Linked DNA regions of Homo sapiens: region 2 is linked to region 1. Evidence: promoter capture Hi-C in human tissues and cell types (Jung and others, 2019). All regions are on one chromosome and are shown on one strand. The core of a region is centred on a gene start or on the middle of the fragment in contact, and the rest is flanking DNA. Distances in the headings are between cores, read along the strand shown. Region 1 holds the start of SFRP2 (secreted frizzled related protein 2). Region 2 overlaps DCHS2 (dachsous cadherin-related 2).

The links. The method cuts DNA at HindIII sites, captures the fragments that hold promoters and counts their contacts. A contact is called where the count stands out against the background at its distance.
Region 2: a contact is called between a fragment that was not itself captured here and the fragment with the promoter of SFRP2 in region 1, in 1 of the 25 tissues and cell types used here (dorsolateral prefrontal cortex).

What each region holds. Positions count from the first base shown.
Region 1 is chr4:153,787,256-153,792,643 of GRCh38, reverse strand. It overlaps SFRP2 (secreted frizzled related protein 2), which reads left to right and starts at 3,561. Exons shown (of 3, transcript NM_003013.3): 1 at 3,561-4,310. The coding sequence starts at 3,809. RefSeq lists enhancers at 1-247, 1-525, 1,930-2,631, 2,632-3,333, 3,248-3,417 and 1 more. The HindIII fragment of the contact is 9,313 bases long and covers 1-5,388 here.
Region 2 is chr4:154,300,159-154,305,762 of GRCh38, reverse strand. It overlaps DCHS2 (dachsous cadherin-related 2), which reads left to right. Exons shown (of 20, transcript NM_001358235.2): 11 at 532-666; 12 at 885-1,094. Among named protein-coding and RNA genes, the nearest start is that of DCHS2, 190 kb to the left of the region's middle. The HindIII fragment of the contact is 3,082 bases long and covers 365-3,446 here.

The DNA of each region.
Region 1 (5,388 bases), core at 2,312-4,811:
CCCCTCGAAAAAACCTTCCTAAAAGTAAAAATGTAAGGGATCTCAGCGTAAAGGAACCTGACTTGCAACCTCAAAGGGACAATCTCTGTTTTGGGAAATGGCGCCCCCAGATGGCTGAATCCCATGAAAAAATACTCACCCGGAGCAGGGAAGGCCTGGGTGCACGGACCCGGGGAGAGGTGACGTCACCCGCCCGGCTGGCCAGCGCACGGCTGAAAGCCAGGCGGCAACGCGGTTGGAGACACCCGACAAGTCGCGACAGGTCCCCAAGGCTAGCCCGGTAGTCACTTCACCTCACCGAGGCACATGTAACGTCAGCAGCTGTACCACTTACGGTGTGGCCCGGTTCGTTACTTAACCTCTCCATGCCTCAGTTTCCCAGTGACTGCTTGTGTGCAAAATGATCATCCGGGAGCCGGTGCTGGATTGTGTGAATTAAGGAACTAGCATTTTACACGCATCGTTCTTCTCGCTTTCACTCCTCAGAAATAAGGGTCCATCCGCTTTGATTTTACTACTTGAGAGTGGGGGTGGGAGGCTCGCTTTTCCCAGCTCTTCGCGGAGGCCAAGCGGACTCCCTGACAGGACAGAATCTGAACGTGAGAGTGAAGGTCTTGCCTGTCCAGAAACTCTTGTAGCCAGCACAGGTTTAAACAAGAAGCCAAATTGTTCTGGAGAGATTGCTGGGGGCTTTCTTTGTGCCTCAAGCTTCTTCAGTGCCCTGAGCACAGGAAACACTCAAGCAGAGAAGCAGAGCCAAACCCAGGATACGGGAGGTCGAGGCTCTTCCGTAGACCTGCAGCATTGGGGTGGGATGATGTTCATTCTGTGTGTGTTCTGGACCAAGCCCCTCTCCAGGGACCTATGGGCAGCCCCCTTTAAGCAAGATGCCCGGTGGAGTGGGCATCCACCATCACTTACCCTGGGCTTGGGTGAATAGATTTTCCGTGCCTTAAATGGGCAGGGAGGGGGTAAACATGGACGGTCCATTGGTACAAATAAAAGCCTTTGGTGGGTTTTGATCAATTGCAAGGATCGAAGGAGACCTGTGGACCTGAGGTCAACTGGCAGCAGAGAAGAGTCTGGGTTCGTGAAGGCGCCGCCGCGGTGCCGCGCCACGTGTGAGCATCCCAGGGACCAGTCTGGGGAGGCGCGCTGGGATGGGCACCCAGTGTCCCATCCCTGCGCTGCTCATATGGGCAGAGCTCCGTGCCCGCGTCCCAGCCTCCGCGGGAGGTTATTGCCCTGTTCCCCAGTGATCAATTGGACCGGTCTTAGCCCAAAAGCAGAAGGGAGTGGGGAGAGCGACTTGAGGTGGGAAAGGCAGCAGCAGCGAGTGCAGGGTCGGGACCAGACTAAGTGGCGTGGGTTCCGGGAGGAGCAGCGATGGGCCGCAGGGGACGCCGCGGGCCGGGCAAACAAGCTGGCCAGAGGTGGACACTGCGCACGGCAGGGATGGAGACTCAGGCGCGACTCCCAGCACCTCCTGGCGGCAAGCCGGGCAGCGAGGGCTCCCAAAACAATGCAGCCGGCGCGCGGAGCGCGGGGGCCGCCAGCCACTTCCGGGCGTGCGGCAGCGCGGGGCTCAAACCAGCCAGACCAGCTTCGGGCTCCTTGAACTCCCAACAAGGGGCTCTGCGGGGAGGAGGCGACCCCAGCGGAGGGCGTTGGGGATTTAGGGGTTGGCCGGGGCCGGCGGGGGGTTGGGGGGGCGTGAAAGCGAGAGGGCCCTTATCCCACTCCCAGGCCCAAGTCGTAGCATCTCTCAGAGCTCACGCTCTTTATTAGCTCTTTCTTTTGGTGTGCTTCTGTTTCCTTTGTGGTTTCATTGCAAAGTAGTTTATGTTGGGAAGGGGGCTTTTAGGCCTCTTGGTGCTTTCGTTAGAGACGAAAAGGCCCTGAACCAATTTGGGGAAAGAGAGGCCTTTTGCAGCTACCCCGGGCCCTTCCCCAGCAGAGCACCCGGAAGCTGGGCTCTTAGGGACGCAGATTCTTGGAGTTCAGAATGTGCATTCTCTCCAGATGACGATTTTCCTGGCGTGTTTACGGTCAGCAGATAACACTGAGTGGGCTTTTGCCACCCATTCATTCATTACCCGGCTCCTCTAAGCAGCTGGACCGCAAAGTGTGCCTGATAACTTGGGCCTGGGAGCCGCCAAGGCCAACGCATCTTCCGGAAGGAGGGAAATTAGGAAGCCGGGGTCTGAGCCTGTGAATGACTCTTAAGTGGTCGGGAAGTAATAACAATGCGCCCACCTTACATATGAAAGAACTTCGCCCTCCGGGGATTATCTCTTTGGATCTTCACAGCCACCCGGAGACAGCGGCTGAGGAGAGCGAAGGCCTCCTGTCCCCATAGGGAGACTAGGGACAATTAGGCAAAAGGAGCCCACCCCCCAACCCAGAACTTACTGTTTGCAGTCAGAGACACTAGATCCCAGGCTCCACGAGAGCAGAGGCCGGCCTGTTTGTTCATTTCTGCACATCCAGCGCCCAGCATGGTGCCCCCTGGTACGTAGGGGATGAATGAGCTAATTCTAGCCCTCGTGGATCTCTAGGCAGGACTCCTTCCTCTACCTCGCTCCCTCCCAGCCTGCCCATCTTTTGTGCCCGTCTTTTGTGCCGGCCACCAGTCTTTACAAACAGTGCCCTGGGGGCCCATACTCCAGCTTTCCAGAGCGCACAGCTGCAAGGGCGGCTGTGTGTTAGAGCCCGTGATGCCTTCGAGTATTGAGTCATGCCATTCATTTAAGAAGGAAAAATCTCTCCAAAACGGGGAAATGGTGGGCAGTCCTGTGTGACTGGTGAGACTCTTGTAGGGGCGTTTCTACAACGACGAAACCCTTCCTAGGCACTCACTCCAACAGAATAACAAGCCCATTTTATTAGTATTTCGTTTTCCATGTAAAGTTCTGCTCATACGAATATATTTATAATTCTGATTTTTTTACGGCATTGGGGAGCACACCGACAGGCTGCTGAACGGTGGCTGGAGATTCGAGGGAAAACGAAGTTCGCCGAGGCGGCCTCGGGCGGGCAGGTCCCGGGCTCCATCACAGGGCACACGCGGCTACCAGGGACGCAGCCCCCCAACACACACACACACACACACACACACACACACACACACACACACACCCTCTCCCACTCATGCCTGGCAACCCAGCAGAAACTTCGGACTGGGGCAAAACAAGCCCGGGCCCCGGCGGCACGCGGGGCTAGGCGCGTTCCCGCCAGTACCTGGTCGCGAGGCCGCTCGCGGGGTGCCCTGCGTGCCCCCCACTCCCGCAGCCCGCGCCCTGCTCGCTCACTGTGGGGGCGCAGCGGCCAGGCTTCTCTGTTTGTTGTTTAAAGAAATCCTAGGGCGGGCGAGCGGCGGCATCTAGGGGAGGGGGCGCAGCCAGAATTCCCTTCCAGCAAGCGCGTGAGGGGCATTCTCAACGCAAAACCAGACCCAGAAAGTAGTGACCAGCCCTCCTCGGATTACCCTTCATTGGCTCCTCCCTTGCTCCCCCCACCCTCCAGATTTGCATAAAAAAGGCCAAGAAAACTCTGGCTGTGCCCCAGCAACGGCTCATTCTGCTCCCCCGGGTCGGAGCCCCCCGGAGCTGCGCGCGGGCTTGCAGCGCCTCGCCCGCGCTGTCCTCCCGGTGTCCCGCTTCTCCGCGCCCCAGCCGCCGGCTGCCAGCTTTTCGGGGCCCCGAGTCGCACCCAGCGAAGAGAGCGGGCCCGGGACAAGCTCGAACTCCGGCCGCCTCGCCCTTCCCCGGCTCCGCTCCCTCTGCCCCCTCGGGGTCGCGCGCCCACGATGCTGCAGGGCCCTGGCTCGCTGCTGCTGCTCTTCCTCGCCTCGCACTGCTGCCTGGGCTCGGCGCGCGGGCTCTTCCTCTTTGGCCAGCCCGACTTCTCCTACAAGCGCAGCAATTGCAAGCCCATCCCTGCCAACCTGCAGCTGTGCCACGGCATCGAATACCAGAACATGCGGCTGCCCAACCTGCTGGGCCACGAGACCATGAAGGAGGTGCTGGAGCAGGCCGGCGCTTGGATCCCGCTGGTCATGAAGCAGTGCCACCCGGACACCAAGAAGTTCCTGTGCTCGCTCTTCGCCCCCGTCTGCCTCGATGACCTAGACGAGACCATCCAGCCATGCCACTCGCTCTGCGTGCAGGTGAAGGACCGCTGCGCCCCGGTCATGTCCGCCTTCGGCTTCCCCTGGCCCGACATGCTTGAGTGCGACCGTTTCCCCCAGGACAACGACCTTTGCATCCCCCTCGCTAGCAGCGACCACCTCCTGCCAGCCACCGAGGAAGGTAAGCCTTCCCTCTTGCTTCCCCACTCCCTGCTGGGCTGAGACGCTCCCAGGAGATCCCGCCCCTGCCACGCATCCCAGTGCATCCCTGCTTGGGGTGCCAGTAGCGGGAAGGGCAGAAGTTCTGCCTGACCTGGTCTGTCATCACAACAAGCCTGTATCAAATTTGAGGCACCCCTCCCACGCCGCCCAAGTCTCGCGCATTCTCCTCCCGAGTTGTACCAGCTATACTTAAGGGCAGTTTAAAAATAAAACAAACAAACAAAAACAACAAAACTAAAAAAACGAAGAACTGAACGGCGGTTTAAAAAAAAATAGATACACGATTATTGTTAAAGATGCTAGCACTGGAGCTGCGCAGAGCGTTGGAAGTGGTGTTTGGTGGAGGAGTTTGTGGTGAGCATTCTGGCCAGAGGCCCCTCGCTCAGCCTCATTCTGCACCTTCCTACCACTGGGCAGGATTCTAGTCACAGGAACATTTCCTGTACAGAAAGGAAAACCAGGATGCACAAGTAGATAACCTTTTAAGGGTCTTTTTGTCCTTTGTCAATTTAGATTTTGGAAATAAAACCGGGACTGGCACGGAGTGTGTGGAAAATTGAACATTGGTTGTAACTGCTCAGATACTTGAGGAAGAGGGCATAAAGGGAATCTCTGGAAATCACTTTTCTATTGCTATCAGTTTTTAACTTAGGAGTGGTTTTGATTAGCTGGAGAAAATCATGCAAAAGAGATTCCCAAGTTTTTAGAAAACGGAGGGAGAGTTCCTGTGCAAAAACCATCAAAGCAATGAAAACCTCATGGGCTCTCAATATTTTTTCTGAAAGGAAAACATATACAATGCCTCTGAGCTGATTTGGGTCCCCTGGGTTGGAAAAGGGAGCTTCCTAATCCCTTTCAGGGCTTCAGCAGCCTCTCCCTTTCAATCTCTAGTAGTTTTCCTACAGACATCATTAGTTAAAGCAAATGCAAAGTTCTTTAGCAATCTTTCCTGGCAGGGACCATGAGTTTGCAATCATCTTATTGGTTAGATTTCTAATTTATTGCAAATGTTTGGCATTTTTCAAACATTTGTCCAA
Region 2 (5,604 bases), core at 656-3,155, 510 kb before region 1:
ACCACATTTCTCACTCCAGATAGCAGACTGAACACTAAGTCGAAAACAAAACAAACAGAAATACGTGTATAAGCAATTCTAGGTGCTCGCTTCTTGAGGTTGAGAATAAACAGAGTTCTATAACTTAGCACGGGCTTTTAAACAGCAGGTCAATCTACAGAAATTGTCATTTGCCCTGCAAGCTTACAATTAAGTCATTAAATCACAATCAGAGGTGTTAGAAGGAGTAATTAGGAATATGTTGTAGAGTTGCACACTCATAAGAAATTTTTTATGGGAAGGAAAAAATTCTAAGCATTCACTGTGGGGAAGTCTCATAAGACTTTTGAAAATCAAGCATTTCAGCCCATGAGGCTTTTATTTTAGCAAGAACAGCCAAAAGAGGTTTTCTTTTACCTTAATTTAAAGGCTGTTTGAGAATCTTGCCATTTTCATCTATGGCCTAACATGTTCAAAGGAAAAGAAATAGGAAAGTGGATAAATGTATTTCAAAGAAATGATTGCTAAGTTTTTCTTTATATTTTTCTTAAGGAGTCAATTCCAAGCTTCAGTTTGAAATCATGCCAGGTGCTTCATTTGAATTATTCGAGATAAATTCTGACACTGGAGAGGTAGTGACAACCACCATACTTGACAGAGAAATTCAAGAAGTCTTCACCCTTCGAGGTAAGGGATTCTTTGAGTAGGCTAAAAAATAAAAATTAAAAATTAAATTTAAAAAAAACCTGTTAAGTGGTGAAATGTTATATTTTGTTGGGGTGTTTTTAAATAAAATATTATTGAGCCAGTGCTACCTGGTTAGCCTGACATTGTCTAGTTAGAACAACATATTTTAGGTATGAATCAAAGGCCACAATTCATACCGTCTTTGTGTTCTGTGTCAGTACTAGTACGAGATGGGGGATTCCCTTCATTGTCCAGCACCACAACAATCCTCTGCACTGTTGAAGATGAAAACGATCACGCACCAGAGTTTATTGTTTCCAGTTATGACATTGAGGTTCTGGAAAACCAGGAACCAGAGGTTGTCTATACGGTTTTAGCCTCTGATATGGATGCTGGCAATAACAGAGCTGTTGAATATCACATAATTGGTAAGTTTGTTTGTTTGTTTGTTTGTTTGTTTGTTTTTTTAAGACAGAGTCTCACTCTGTCACCCAGGCTGGAGTGCAGTGGCGCGATGGCTCACTGCAACTTCACCTCCCAGGTTCAAGCAATTCTTGTGCCTCAGCCTCCCAAATTGGTAAGTATTTTTAAATTAAAATTTATTCCAGGATGCTGACTGAGTTGACACACACTCTCTGTTGATTACTCTGTGTTTGATACCTGTTGCTTTTCTCTACAAAATACACACCCAGTCAGAACTGACTGGTGCCATGAGCTTTCTCTCTACCTCCTTCTCACAGCCACCTTGAACCACTGCTCTCCACATTCTTTAAAAATCTGCCTTTGCAAACTGCTGTGAATTTTTTTCTATGCTAACATTAGTGGATGTAAGGATGGAAAAGATAGTGTTTTTCTATTTTTGTTGCTTTCATGTGATCAGTTTTAATTTTTTTTAATTTTTCTTGTCTCATAGACAGATTCTTACTGGGTCATTTCATCCAGTCTCTGTCTTTAGCTACCACTGGGATGCCAATGGCTCCCATCTCCATCTGCATCCTAGATCTAGGTCCCGTTAAAGGATATTGTTTTTAAAAGTAAAGTAATAACTCTCATACAAATATAAAAATGGTACCTGCGAATAACTTTTATTTAATTCACTAATGAATAAGTAAACCAAAAAGATGTTAAAATGGGTTCAAGGAGAATTCCAAGAGCCATACACAGGCACATACACACACAAAGGGAATAAGGAATTCTGAAATGCAGAAAAGGTGTATTTGCAAGACAACAATCAGTGCATTTCACCAGATTTACTTGCATTTCTGTGGATAAGAATCATTTACATTATTATCAGTTTTCAACAATTTACAGAGTGGTCAAAATGCGGTGAAGGTGGAAGAACATTCTGATGGCAAAGACACACTGGACACCTGTGCCCCACCCTTCTTTCTTCAATACCAGGACACCTACTAACCTTGTTCCTCCTATTTCAAATTATTTCACAATTTCCTAACAGCCCCAAGGACCCAGTCTTTATATCCAACAGCATTGCATTATCAGTGTGTCCAAAATGACACATCAGCCTCACCCCCTTTCTACCTCCCCCATCATGGTCTGGGTCCTTCTGCTAGTCTCTGCCAGTGATCTTCAGCTTTTTTTTTTTTTTTTTTTTGCTTCACTTACCCTTAAAATAATCTTGAAAACTTATGTACGCAGACATATTTTTATGTTGTCAACTAAACTTTTTTTAAAGAGTAACAAAGGTGTGTTTCCCAGCATATCCTAAATATTGACACATTAAAATAAGACTGTTATATCAATCACCTTTTAAAAGTATTTGATAGAATAAAAAAACCTTAAAAATATATGAAAGGTGTCCAGGTACGGTGGGTCATGGCTGTCATCCCAGCACTTTGGGAGGCCAACGTGGGCGGATCACCTGAGGTCAGGAGTTCGAGACCAGCCTGGCCAACATGGTGAAACCCCACCTCTACTAAAAATACAAAAATTAGCTGGGTGTGGTGGCAGGCACCTGTAATCCCAGCTACTTGGGAGACTGAGGCAGGAGAATCACTTGAACTTAGGAGGCAGAGGTTGCAGTGAGCTGAGATTGTGCCATTGCACTCCCTCCTGGGGGAAAAGAGTGAGACTTTGTCTCAAAAAAAAAAAAAAATATGTGTGTGTGTGGGTGTGTGTGTGTGTGTGTGTGTGTGTGTGTGTATACGTATATCTATTTCATATATATGTGTGTATATATACACGTATATATATTTCATATGTGTGTATATATACACGTATATATATTTCATATATGTGTGTATATATATAAGTATATATATATGAAATATATATAAGTATATATATATGAAAGGCATCCTCCCCTTGTGTCACCTTCCTCTTTCCTGGCTCTGCATGTCTCTTCATGGTCCCAAAGTCTCCACCTGTTCTGCCCAAGCTGAGGCCACCTTCTCAGCCAGGTTGGAAACTGGGAGCTCCGTAGCCCTCGGATGGCTGTGGGACTCAGAAATCTTTCCAGGAGCAGAGAGCATACCTTGGATTGGCAAAGCTGCCTGCCAAGCCACCATGCCCAGGAAATCGGCTAAAAAGGTGACACAGCAAAGGTGATAGAGGAGCCACACAGGAGATAGGCAGGGTTGTCTGCTAAACCTGCCCTTCCAAAAACAAAAGCCAGGCCTAAAACAGCCCCCACAACTCGGCAAAGAAGGGAGTGAGGTGTGTAAGGGGAGAAAGGGGAAGGGGATGCTGGCAAGGATGAGAACCACCCTGCACAAACCAAGACGCCTGCACAGCGCAGTCACAGGGAGCGCAAGGCGCTGGGAATGCCAAGTGAATTGTAAATTTTCATAGCTCACAGACTCTACTGTTTGAAATATGATTTTTTTAAGTTAATAAAAATGTAGAATTTTACTTAAGTTTTTTTCAATTATATGTATGAATGAGCATTTTCAGTTATATGTTTTGCATTTTTACTTCTTCAATCAATATTACCTTTCTACATCCTTGCAGAATTTTACCATAACGTAATGGACTTTTATGCTTAAAATATTGATCATTTTATTATACTTTTCTACAATTAAAATATGTGGATAAATTTAAGACTTCTAAAAATTTCCAATGAACATAAGGTCTCAGTTTTGAAAATTATATTAGATTGTTATTATTATGATTGTAAGATTAAAATAGCAAAAGTGTATTCCAATTTTGACCAATAATAACATAAAAAGTAAAATTGTGTTGTAAATGCATCTCTGAATCAGATTAATGGGTTCCTTTTTTCCAGTGAGTTCATGATTCTCGGAATGCATGTTCCTTTTTGCTAAAATAAGGCAAAGCAGCTGGGTGCAGTGGCTCACGCCTGTAATCCCACCACTTTGGGATGCCAAGGTGGGCAGATCACCTGAGGTCTGGAGTTAATTTGAGACCAGCCTGACCAACATGGAGAAACCTCGTCTCTACTAAAAATACAAAATTAGCCAGTGGCACATGCCTGTAATCCCAGCTACTCGGGAGGCTGAGGCAGGAGAATCGCTTGAACCCGGTAGGCAGAGGTTGAGGTGAGCTGAGATTGCGCCATTGCACTCCAGCCTGGGCAACAAGAACGAAACTCTGTCTCAAAAAATAAAAATAAAAATAAATAAATAAATAAATAAAAATAAGGCAAAAGGCAAAGCACAGTGCCAAGTCTGTTGCTGTTTCTCTTTGTTACAGATGTAAGAACTGAAAATCCTTGCTCACCTTTTTAAAAATGGAAGTATTGTTACAGAAGTTAATTTAGTACTTGTATGCCTTCTGAGTTATATGCCAAAAAGTTAATGAATAGTCTTTATTTTTTCTTTATCTACCACTTGAAAACTTGAATAGGCTCTATAATTTGGTTGATAGCAGAGACACTCTCCCACTGCATAAGGATATCTTCCCAGGCATTAAAATCAGTCACTGTTTTGACATTGAACTTTCAACATTGGGAATGACCACTTTATTTGGCAGCCATTTATTTGGGTGAGAGGGAGACTTTCTTTTTTAATTTGCAAGAAGAGTGCTTATAAAGGTGAATGTGGGAAAGATAAATTCCATGATCCCAGGTGAGCTCTCAGGTAGAGCAATTTTAGGAATAAGGATATTTAAATTGAACTTCTGGAGATTACCACAGAACTACCTGTTTCCAAGTGAATTCCTTAGAAAACTTCAAGTAACCTAGCTGTACTCAGCCCTCATTTTAAAGATGATTGACTGGTCTAAACACCCTTCACTTATTCGCCTAAGCCGGATCATGAATCCTTTCTCCATAACTTATTTTTTCTCCTTAATATCTTTGCAATGTGTTCACTTCCTGCACGCAAATATTGTTTCAGATACCCCTTGTTGCGCAAGTAGATTACTATGACTCCTAACCTTCCCATTTTCATTTTCTTTTCTTTTTTTTTAAAGACAGGCTCTCGATCTGTCACCAAGGCTGTGCAGTGGTGCATTCACAGCTCACCGCAGCAGCACAATCACAGCTCACTGCAGCCTGTACCCCCTGTCAGGCTCAAGCAATTCTCCCACCCCAGCCTCCTGAGCAGCGGGGAATACAGGCACATGTCACCATGCCTGAATAACTTAAAAACTTTTTTTTTTTTTTTTTTGTAGAGATGAGGTCTCACTATGTTGCCCAGGCTGGACTCAAATTCCTGGACTCAAGCAATCCTCCCGCCTTGGTCTCCAAAAGTTCTGGGATTACAGGAACCATCCTATTTTCTAAACAAACTTTGACATTGCTGCCTCGATACTATTCTTAAAATAGAAATTTGATTCATGACACTTTCCTGTCCAAAATCCTTCAGGGGGCTCCCTCATGGATTTCAGGAGAAACTATAGAATCTTCAGCAGTATACAGAGAGCCCTTCACAATTTGACCCCCTGCTTACCTCCCAAATTCATGTCTTTCCTCTACCGCTACTGCCAGCCCTTTTCCTACTTGCCACATACAAACACCCA